Regions from separate parts of the Homo sapiens genome. Here region 2 is linked to region 1. The links are contacts of gene promoters, found by promoter capture Hi-C in blood cells and fetal thymus (Javierre and others, 2016). All regions are on one chromosome and are shown on one strand. Each heading gives the region's core, a stretch centred on a gene start or on the middle of the fragment in contact. The rest is flanking DNA. Distances are from core to core; before and after follow the strand shown. Region 1 holds the start of TMEM38B (transmembrane protein 38B). Region 2 has its middle 21 kb from the start of FSD1L.

What was found. Contacts are between HindIII fragments. The CHiCAGO score rates a contact against its expected background, and 5 or more counts as called.
Region 2: a fragment that was not itself captured here is called in contact with the fragment with the promoter of TMEM38B in region 1 in 3 of 17 cell types (M2 macrophages, megakaryocytes and M1 macrophages); the score reaches 6.5 in M2 macrophages.

The regions. Positions count from the first base shown.
Region 1 is chr9:105,692,573-105,697,910 of GRCh38, reverse strand. It overlaps TMEM38B (transmembrane protein 38B), which reads right to left and starts at 3,370. Exons shown (of 6, transcript NM_018112.3): 1 at 3,139-3,370. The coding sequence starts at 3,250. RefSeq lists a silencer at 3,267-3,536. The HindIII fragment of the contact is 6,405 bases long and covers 1-5,338 here.
Region 2 is chr9:105,424,387-105,429,922 of GRCh38, reverse strand. It overlaps a transcript of SLC44A1 not described here. Among named protein-coding and RNA genes, the nearest start is that of FSD1L, 21 kb to the left of the region's middle. The HindIII fragment of the contact is 744 bases long and covers 3,909-4,652 here.

The DNA.
Region 1 (5,338 bases), core at 2,121-4,620:
CGAACCTATACTTTTATAGAACTATAGAATTTTTTAAAAAAAGATCAAGGACGAGTATTTTTATAACCTTAGGCCTGAGAAACCCCTTCTTAAAATGCACAAATCCCAATAGTGACATAGGAGAAAAAAATTAATAGATTTTTTCATGGAAAAGTAAAAATATTATGAGATTTTTTAAACTTCTGCAATAAAAGACAATATAAACAAAGTTAAAGATAGCAAGAGTTATGGGAAAAAAGGACTACAGACATAAATAGAATGAATATCCATGATCCACAAAGACAGTAAATAGAAGACAATAACCTACAGCCCAATAAGAAAATGGACAAAAAAAAATTAAGCAATTTACATGAAATACAAATGACCAATAAGAGGCACAAACACATCAGTACCATGACAAACATAAATGAAAAATTGCTTTCTGATCATCAGAATGGCAAGATATTGAAGACCAATAATAGAACTGTCAAAGGAAATGGGCAGTCTAACACACTTCGGGTAAAAGGCTAAACAGGTACACTGTTCACTCTTGTGTCTGAATTCCATCATTTTTACCTCCTTACAAGTACTGGTACTGTATGATACTATATAAGTATTCAATAATCACGTGGTTCTCAAATTATGGAATCTCAGGAGCCCTCTACATCCCTAAAAATTAGTAAACAGATTAATGCTTGCCAAGGATAGGGGACAGCTTACACAAAAGTGCAGGAAGGAATTTAGGGTGGGTGAGGAAACCGTTCAGTATCTTGATTGTGATGGTAGTTGAATGACTGTATGTGTCTGTCCAAAAACACAGAACTTTTTATTAAAAATGGTGAACAGATTCTATGTGAATTACATCTTTTAAAAAATCGGACTTAAATTTCTTGACAACCCCAAAAGGTTTTGTTTATGTTGGCTACAAGTATCAATACTTAGCATCTTAGAAATTATAACTGAGAAAATTTTAAATAGTTGTGGCGGCTAAAGCAACTCCAACATCCGCCATGTTGACTTATGATTAACCCCAGTTCTGGGATTGCCTCTAAGATTTATATTTTATCTACTGTTCCTTGTGTAAAAGTATACACTTACCGATCTTGCCCTTAGGTCAAACAACCTTGACGCTATTTCACTTACCATAAATCCTGCTCTTAAGCAACTGTCCTACACATCTCTGGTTGGGGGTTGGGGGTCGGGTAATGGGGTGATCCACCATCTCCTTGGGGCCACCCAAGACATGGCTTCTGTTCTTAAGTCCCTTTTAAAGGTTTCTTTCTAAGAAACTGGATTCCTCAGCCTCTCAGCTTCCTCAGCCTTTGGGGATAGGACTGCATAGACCTGTCCACTATGCAACAATTGTTCTTCATGTTTTCATTTTTTAAAAAGTAAATGTATTAAATGTTAACATAAATAATGTATTCTTCAAGCCTGGCCAACATGGCGAAACCCCGTCTCCACTACTAAAAATACAAAAATTAGCCGAACTTGGTGGCAGGCGCCTCCCAGCTACTCCGGAGGCTGAGGCAGGAGAATCGCTTAAACCCAGGAGGCACAGGTTGCAGCACTGAGCCGAGATCGCGCCACTGCACTTCAGCCTGGGCGACAGAGAGACTCCGTCTCAAAAATAATAATAATAATAATGATAATGTATTCTTTATGAAAAATAACTTTTCCAAAACAAAAAACATTTAGTGAGAAGAATCACACTGTGTACATTCTAACAAATGTCTGGCTTCAAATAGAAAACTGTTAGATTCTCATATCTACTTCCTTCTGTTACAGTATCACAACTCAGGTAGCCTCTGGAAAACTCCACTGTACACTTCTGAAAAAATGAGAGTGAAAAAGATAACATCTGCATATTATTACGAAAGTAATTTTAAACTGGCAGTGTCAGAGAATCCCATGGGTCCCTGGACCACAATGTGAACATCTGATTCAGCCTATACAAAAAAAAATTTTTTTAATCAAATTCTGAACATGTAGTAGCAACAAAACTTACTTTTTTCAAATCAAAGAAATAATATCTTATGCAGATAATGTGTTCTACTTTAATGCAGTAATACCATCCTCATCCAGGTCAAAATTTGTACCAACGATTTAAACTGAGCTACAAACTTCAACATAAATGAAAAATATTTCTGAGGTCTAAGGATTTTTTAAAACCAGTAAGTAGTCCATAAGAAAGATACAGCATCATCCTCCAGACCTCACTCATCAACTATCCGTAGGGCAAGGCAGATGAAAGACAGCAAGAACACAAAGAAAGTAGGCAAAGAAATGTCTGACCTCAAAGAAAGAAGAGGTCCATACAACTAAAAGCACAGTAGAATAACTACAAAAGTAAAGCAGTATTAGAGCAAACGCACCCTGGTGTAAAATCCAATAAAATACAACTACTGTCCCTTGATCGCATTGCTAAAAGAACTCAAAATGCTGTTTCAAGACTATATCCCCATTCTGCAGATAGTGAAACTACGCCAGGTAACTCTTGCTTGTACAGTGTCCGTCGTGACTGTGAAAAGGGGAACGCACTCGCTTCTCACATGCTAGGCAGGGTGTTAGGACACTGCGTGAAGGGGAATCCTGGTCTGGCTACAGGAGGCTTTTTGTTTCAGTGCTTGTACAACTTTCATAACTGGAGAGTAGTCCGCAACCATCTATTACTCCAAGAGACTGAGTCAGAAACCTGCTGTCTCCTCACATGACTTTCAAACACTGCGAGCGAGTGGCGACACTGCGAGCGAGTGGCGACACTGCGAGCGAGTGGCGGTACCGCGAGGAGGCCGCCCAAGCCCTGGGCTGGCGCGGATATCTGTGGTTCCGAAACGCTGCGGCAGCTTCTGTCAGTCCTGGGACTTCTGCGGGCGGTTGGCAAGGTCGGCCCTGCTCGCCCAGGCTACGGCCTCGCGGACCCCAGGTCACGCCTCCTTTGAGGAGTACTAGAGCCTCCGTCCTCCCCCACGCTGTTTCCCCATCTGCACTCAGTAAGTCAGACCAACCGGCCCTTGGCGCCCCTCCAACTCTACCATCGAACTGTCTGGGCTAGCGGCCACTCAGCCGCCCACCCGACCCACCCGACCCACCCGACTTAGACGGTCCTCGCCGTCAGGAGCACTCTGAGGGGTCCGGCCCGCGGCGCCCCGCACTCACCCGGCTGACGTTTCACCGCCATCACTGACACTAGATAGTGCGCGATGTCAAAAAAGGGAAACATGGACGTGCGGGAGAAGGCCAGAGCCAACTCGTCCCATGGAGAATCCATAACGACCACCGACCGCGGCAACCGAAGCAGCCGCGGCTACTGGTTCCCCGCGCTCGCGCGGTGAGGAGTAGGAGAGGGCACAGCCGCGGCCGCCCGCTCCTCCGCGCCGGCTCCAGCTCCGCGCGTGCGCCCTGGCGCCGAGGGGGCGGGGCCGCGCTTCGCGGGAGCCGCAGGCTCACCGGCGCTAGGCGGGTGGGCGGGGCGAGCGGGTTCCCCGCGGCTCCAGCCGGCTCTTGCCTCGGTTCTCCTAGTAAGGGTCCAGCGTCTTCTTGGTCCTGGGCGCAGTGCAGGACCTGGAGAGCGTGCAGATGAACAAAACACGGTCCTCAAGGGGAGACGCTCAGAGTTGGATTTATTTCTGTAAATTGATGTCATTCACCTAACATTTATCGAGCAACCACAGTGCAAGTCACACTGTGACTTACTGGAGATATAAAAATAAAACAATAATATCCTGACCTCAAGAACTATGCGTTCCCTGAAAGAGATTTTTTATAAAAAGAGAAAAAACGCACATAATGGTACAAAAGCAGGTACTGAGAAGTATAGCTGCCGTGCGAGAGCAGTTCGAAACGAAGATTACAATTCTGGGAAGTGAGTAAAGTGACATGTGAGCTGGACTTTAAAAGTTAAGTGAGAAACACAAGCTAGGTGGGAGATGGAGGGAGGTGTTTTGGGTTGACTACAAAGTGAGAAATGAGGTTGGGAAAAGTCCTCGAATGGCAGACAAAGCCAGGCAGTTTGGCTCCAGAGGTTAAATTCTTGATCAATCACTATGTTAAGCTCAGAGCCAGAATCTCTTCTCCTAATCTCTACGCTAACTGGGTTGTTTGGTGGAAGGTGAGGGAGTAGAGGTGCAACGAAGCAACAAGATTAAGAATAGATTGATGAGAAGCGACTGACAACGGAAAATCAGAGGGTATTCACTGGTCCAAGCAAAAGGTAGTGGAGGCTGTGGCAGCAGAAATTGAGACCAATTGTGGGAAACATGGGTAGAAGCAGAATATCGTCAGTGAGTGTCAGTCTGTACAGGCGGGAAAGGAAGCATTTGTCAAATAAAATGAGGAACGGGTGAGTAGGAGGATTGTGGTTGCATTCTGATAAATAGGAAACAAGAAGGAATAGGTTTGGGTAAGAAAAAAAACTAGCTTGGCACACTTATTTGATGTGTGAACAGATTATGCTGGCACCAGGAAATTGGAGAAACGTGATTAGCTGCTAGGTAGGTGACAGCTTCACGGGTGTATGCACTGCAAAAGGAGAATTTTTTTTATCTGAATATGTATTCATTAATTTTAATTCATTTAACAAAATGTTTTTTGCGTGCCTACTATGTAACCAGCATTTTGCTGGATGTCAGAAATACTGCCCTAAACACTAAGTGTTTAAAACGTAGGAAAATTGTAGTAAATCTCTACACTTCATTACTTATCAAGAAAGAATAGACTTGTTCAAATACTTTTCACGTGTGGTTTTCTAAGCAAGCACTTCCCGTAGAGAAAAGTCTTTAGACCTGTAGCACACTTTCTAGCAAAACTAAGGGGAAAAAAACCACCTGTGAATATTTATACTTTCCTGTTTAAGTCTGTTCTTTCCATACTTTTTACACATTCGCTTATTTTTGGAATTTTAGTTTTGCGAATTTAGGCTCAGAGTTTGGATATTACTTCTTTTTTTTCTTTTCTTGTTTTTTTTTTTTTTTTTTTTTTTTTTTTTTGATATGTAATCTTGCTCTGTTGCCAGACGAGTGCAGTGGCGCGATCTCGGCTCACTGCAACCCCCAACTCGCTGATTCAAGCGATTCTCCTGCCTCAGCCTCCCGAGTAGCTGGGATTAAAGGCACGTGCCACCACGTTTTTTTTGTATTTTTAGTACAGACGGGGTTTCACCATGTTGGCCAGGATGGTTTGGAACTCCTGACCTCATGATCCGCCCGCCTTGGCCTCCCAAAGTGCTGGGATTACAGGCGTGAGCCACTCACACCCAGCCTGGATATTATTTCTTTAAATATTTTACATTTTAACAGTCTTAAATTTTGCAAAATATATGGTTAGTCTTTGGACTTAAAAAAATATATGATGTAATCTT
Region 2 (5,536 bases), core at 3,031-5,530, 270 kb after region 1:
CCTGTCTCAAAATATATATATATACTTGTAATTTTACAACCTATAATTAAGGTATACACATGCATAAAGAAATATGAAAGAAGATTTAAATAAAATTGAGATCACACCAAATTTCTGCATACCTTGAAATGGTTCCTAAAAGGCTTCTCCGTATTTGAAGATTTAAGTGTTAATGTTTTTACTATTTGCAATAAATTCTAAATCTTGGATGATGATTAATCTGTAACTTCATTGAGGTAAGCACTTTTTCCAAGGGTACATCTTTATTGTTTTCCCCTCAGTAGGCATAATTACTGTCAAAAATTAAGGTAATACAGAAGGGCCAGGTGTTGTGGTGCATGCCTATAATCTCAGCACTTTGAGAGGTCAACGCAGGAGGATAGCTTGAGCCCAGGAGTTTGAGAGCAGCCTGCACAACATGGCAAAACCTTGTCTCTACAGAAAATTCAAAAATTAGCCAGGCACGGTGGCACATACTTGTAGTCCCAGCTACTCGGGAGGCTGAGGTGGGAGGATGGCTTGAGCCAAGAAGGCGGAGGTTGCGGTGAGCTGTGATCGTGCCACTGCACTCCAGCCTGGATGACAGAGCCAGACCTCGTCTCAAAACAAAAACGAAAACAAACCAAAAAGATTAAAGTAATACAGAAAAGCCCTACTCCTAAATCACTCTAACCTTTGAGATAATCTGGTTTTATATCCTTTCAGTTCTTCCTTTTAAGGCAAGATACGAATTGTGTGCCCTGTGGATGTGGAAGCGTATCACTTACCTGTGAGTGAGACAAGGAAACAGCCACTGTGGAGATGTGAATGCAGCTTTGTTTTATTTTTTGACCATATGCCCAGTAACTCATTAAAAGTTTGAAGTGAGTATTCCTGCACCATTCAAGAATATCCGAATTTATTAAAGTTATGAATAACCGGCCGGGTGTGGTGGCTCATGCCTGTAATCCCAGCACTCTGGGAGGCTAAGGCAGGCGGATCACGAGGTCAGGAGATCGAGACCATCCTGGCCAACATGGTGAAACCCTGACTCTACTAAAAATACAAAAATTAGCTGGGCGTGGTGGCGCGTGCCTGTAGTCCCAGCTACTACAACTCCAGAGGGTGAGGCAGGAGAATCGCTTAAACCCAGGAGGCGGAGGCTGTAGGGCGCCGAGATTGCGCCACTGCCCTCCAGCCTGCGCAATGGGAACGAGACTCCATCTCAAAAAAAAAAGTTATGAATAACTTCATCGATATCATAGTCATAATTCTAGTAGTGAATGCATACTGTACTAAATGTTTCCTAGGTAGCACAGCCCATGCTGACTGTTCTGCATACTCAGGATAATGGAATCCTCCCAACAATCAGTCTTTTACAGATGGGGAAACTGAGAATTAGATGGGCTAAGTAACTTGCCCAGGACCAAAAAGATGGCAGAGCTAGGATCTGAACCCAGATGTGGTTGATCACAGAGTCTAAACTCTGAACAACTATACTTCTTAGAATATCATAGATCTACTCCATGTGACAAAATATCCACACAAGTTGATGGGGGAAGGAATAAATTGCATAACAAATGGGCCTGACTCCATATTATATCACAAAATTATTTCTAGCTATTAATAAGTATAAAAAGTGAAAGGAAACCATTAAAAATAGAATATAAATTGTATCTTAATTTATAAAAGAAAATAATTTTTTAAAAATAGAAAATATAGGTAACTATTTAACTGATTTGGGGGCGTAAGGGAATTATCAATAAATTTACTGATTTGGGGGCTTAAGGAAATTATCAAAAATTTACATCGTATAGATTATAGGTAAAATTATCACCAGCAAAATTAAAAGACAAACTACAAAGAAGGAAAAAGATTTGCTACTAATATGACCGAAAAAGTACTAGTATCCCTAATACATAAAAATCTTTTATTCAACAGTAGGAAAAATGGTGACATCTCAATAACAAAATGGCAAAGGACATGAATACAGAATTTACGGAAGAGGAAACATAAAGGACTAATAAATTACTAAAAAATACAAATTAAAATAACAAAGGGCTGTCATCTTTTGCCGTTATTATTAAGGGTGATAAGAATGATGATATGAGTATCTGCCGGATGTGGAAAATGGTGACATTCATAGACTTTAGTACAAAGGATTGGTAGAGCCTTTCTGGAGAGCAATTTGGCAATATGTATCAACATTCATAGAGTGCCTTCACCACTTGATGTAGTAATTCCCTTTCCAGAAGTCTATCTAAAGGAAAGAATTAGCAGGGTGGCAAAGATATCTCTATAATAAAAAGATTATAAATAAAAGTTTAATAAAAGGGAATATACTTCCACTATTAAAAATCATATTTCTGAGGCCGGGTGCAGTGGCTCACCCCTGAATCCTGGCATTTTGGGAGGCTGAGGCAGGAGACTTGCTTGAGCCCAGGAGTTTGAGACCAGCCTGAGCAACGTAGTGAGACCTCTGTCTCTATAAAAAAATAAGTTAAAGACATCATATTTCTATACAAAGATGATCATTATAGCATTATTAATAATCCCTTAATTTTGAGAGGAAATTGCTGAATTCAATTATAGGAGAATTATTGAATAGAATATAGTACATTCAAATGAAAGAATATTATAACTTGGTCCTGCTTTCAAGGAAGTTTTAACACCATTGGGAAATTCTAATATGTTAAGGGAAAGAGAAGATAGGCCAGGTGCAGTGGCTCACGCCTTTAATCTCAGCACTTTGGGAGGCCAAGGCGAGTAGATCGCTTGAGCTCAGGAGTTCAAGACTAGCCTGGCTAACATGGTGAAACACTGCCTCTACTAAAAAATACAAAAAATTAGCTGAGCGCGGTGGGCCTGTAGTCCCAGCTACTCCAGAGGCTGAGATGGGAGAACTGCTTGAGCCTAGGAGGCGGAGGTTGGAGGGAGCCATGATCGCACCACTGTACTCCAGCCTGGGCAACAAAGCAAGATTTTGTCTCGAGGAAAAAAAAAAAAAGGAAAAGGAAAAACAGAAGATAGGAATTATTTAATATGTATCTTGTCTTTACCTTTGGGTCATGAGAATATTATTTTGTCATGCTTGCATATTTTGGGTTATATTTTTTACTTGGTTGTAACTAATATTTTATCTATAATGAGCAATTTATTCAATTCACCTGTGTATAATCATCCTGTTTACTTACTCATTTATTTGCTTATTTACCAATTTATCCACTTAATAATTTGTTTATAGAGACTGGGCTTGAATTCAGGTTCTGGCAGATAATATTTGGGCAAATTACCAATCTTCCCTAGTCTCTGTTTTCTTGTCTATAAATGAGAAGAAATACATCTACTCTGCATGAGTAAATGAGGTAATGTATATAAATACTCAGCATGATAACTCACTCCTAAAAGCTGCTCAAGAAATAGCAATTGATATTATTTCATTATTGTTATTTTTTAAGTAGATGCAAAGAAATAGTGGGGAACCAAAAATGTGTGGGCAAAGACCTTCACATTCTCCCAGTCAAGGGAGTTATTGAAATTATAATTTTAAAACAAGAACTGTAAAATATATTACATTTTTGGAACTTAAAGGGAATGTAAATGTCAATGTAAATCAAGGGTCAAACATTGAAAAAATATAACCTTAGAAATAATGCAGTGCACTGAGTAACCCCAGGACATTCTCCAGTGTTGCTTCACAACTATGCCATTGCCACCTAGTGGAATTAGTAATGCATTATATAGCCCAGAAAATTTGAGATTTTATTTTGAAGTATTAAATGGTTTATATAGAAAGGCCAAATTACACAAATATTCTCCTATATGTCCCCATCATCTCCTTTGGACTACTGAAATACTCATCTAACTAGTCTTTCATCTTACATCAGAGCCCCAACCCATTCTCCTACACAGAACAGGCAGAGTAAGCTTTCTAAGATATAAATCAGATCATGTTACTTACACAGATTGAAAATGCAAAACACCTTGCATGGCGTGGAAGCTCTCCAGCTTCATCTGTCCCAGCCTTGCTGATTACGAGTCCCAGTGACCATCTTTCCAGTAAGAATTTTCTGCCTCAAGGCTCCCAAATATACAGGGTTTTTTGTTTGTTTGTTTGTTTTTTGACAGAGTCTTGCTCTGCCGCCCAGGCTGGAGTGCAGTGGCATGATCTCGGCTCACTGCAACCTCTGCCACCCAGGTTCAAGCGATTCTCTTGCCTCAGCCTCCCAAGTAGCTGGGATTACAGGCACCCGCCATCACGCCCGGCTAATTTTTGTATTTTTAGTAGAGACGGGGTTTCACCATGTTGGCCAGGTTGGTTTCGAACTCCTGACCTCAGGTGATCTGCCCGCCTCGACCTCCCAAAGTGCTGAGATTACAGGCGTGAGCCACTACACCTGGCCCCAAATATACAGTTCTCTCTGCCTAGAATGTTCTTCCTCAGCTTTTTACATGCCAAATTCGTCATCCTTCAAGACCAAACTTATTTCCCTCAAACAGATCTTTCCGCAACTACATTATGTACCTCTATTATTTTCTCTCATAGTATTTTGTTCTTTTCCTTTACGACATTTCATCACAAATTATGCTCAGGTATTTTTTCCTGTTTGGTTAATACCTGTTTCCCCCTTCAAACTGTATGCACCATGTTTAACAATGTATATGTCAAAGCTTAGTACTGTGTAGTACAATAGTATGTGTGCATTAAGGAATCTATATAATGGAATGCCATTTAGTCACCAAAAATAGTGTGTTCGATGGGTATTACTGACATAGAATGTTGTACATGATATAACTTTAAGTGAAAAAAGTAGGTTTTATGGTAATACAATCATTTTTGTTTTTAAAATATGAATATATACTACATACATATTTACCATATATTCCAAATATATGTGTTTAAAAATCTGTGAGGTGTTACCATGGTTATTTAAGTTAACAAAATGTGAGTGTAGTTAGTTTTCTTTCTTTCTTTCTTTTCTTTTTTTTTTTTTTGAGATGGAGTCTTACTCTGTTGCCCAGGCTGGAGTGTGCAATGGTCTGACCTCGGCTCACTGCAACCTCCACCTCTTGGGTTCAAGCAATTCTCCTGCCTCAGCCTCCCAAGTATCTGAGACTACAGGTGTGCACCATCACGCCTGGCTAATTTTTGTACTTTTGGTAGAGATGGGGTTTCACCTTGTTGGCCAGGCTGGTCTTGAACTCCCGACCTCAAGTGATCCGCCTGCCTTGGCCTCCCAAAGTGCTGGGATTACAGGCGTGAGACACTGTACCCAACCAATTTTCTTATTTTTGCTTATCTTTTAAAATACTAATTATTTATCACCATTGTTGATATAATAGTTGAAGTTGAGATCTAATGGGATCATATCCTATATGGGACTGAGAAAGTTAGTTAGTATGACTAGTTAGCAGTAAACATTGCATTCAGGATGACTACTAACATTAGTGAGGTCTGAGGCAAGAGGACAAATGGAAGACTCTGCTCCCATTCTCTTCCCACTCCTCGCCCCAGCCCACACTAGGAGGGGCTGCTCACGCTTACCTGTGGACACCT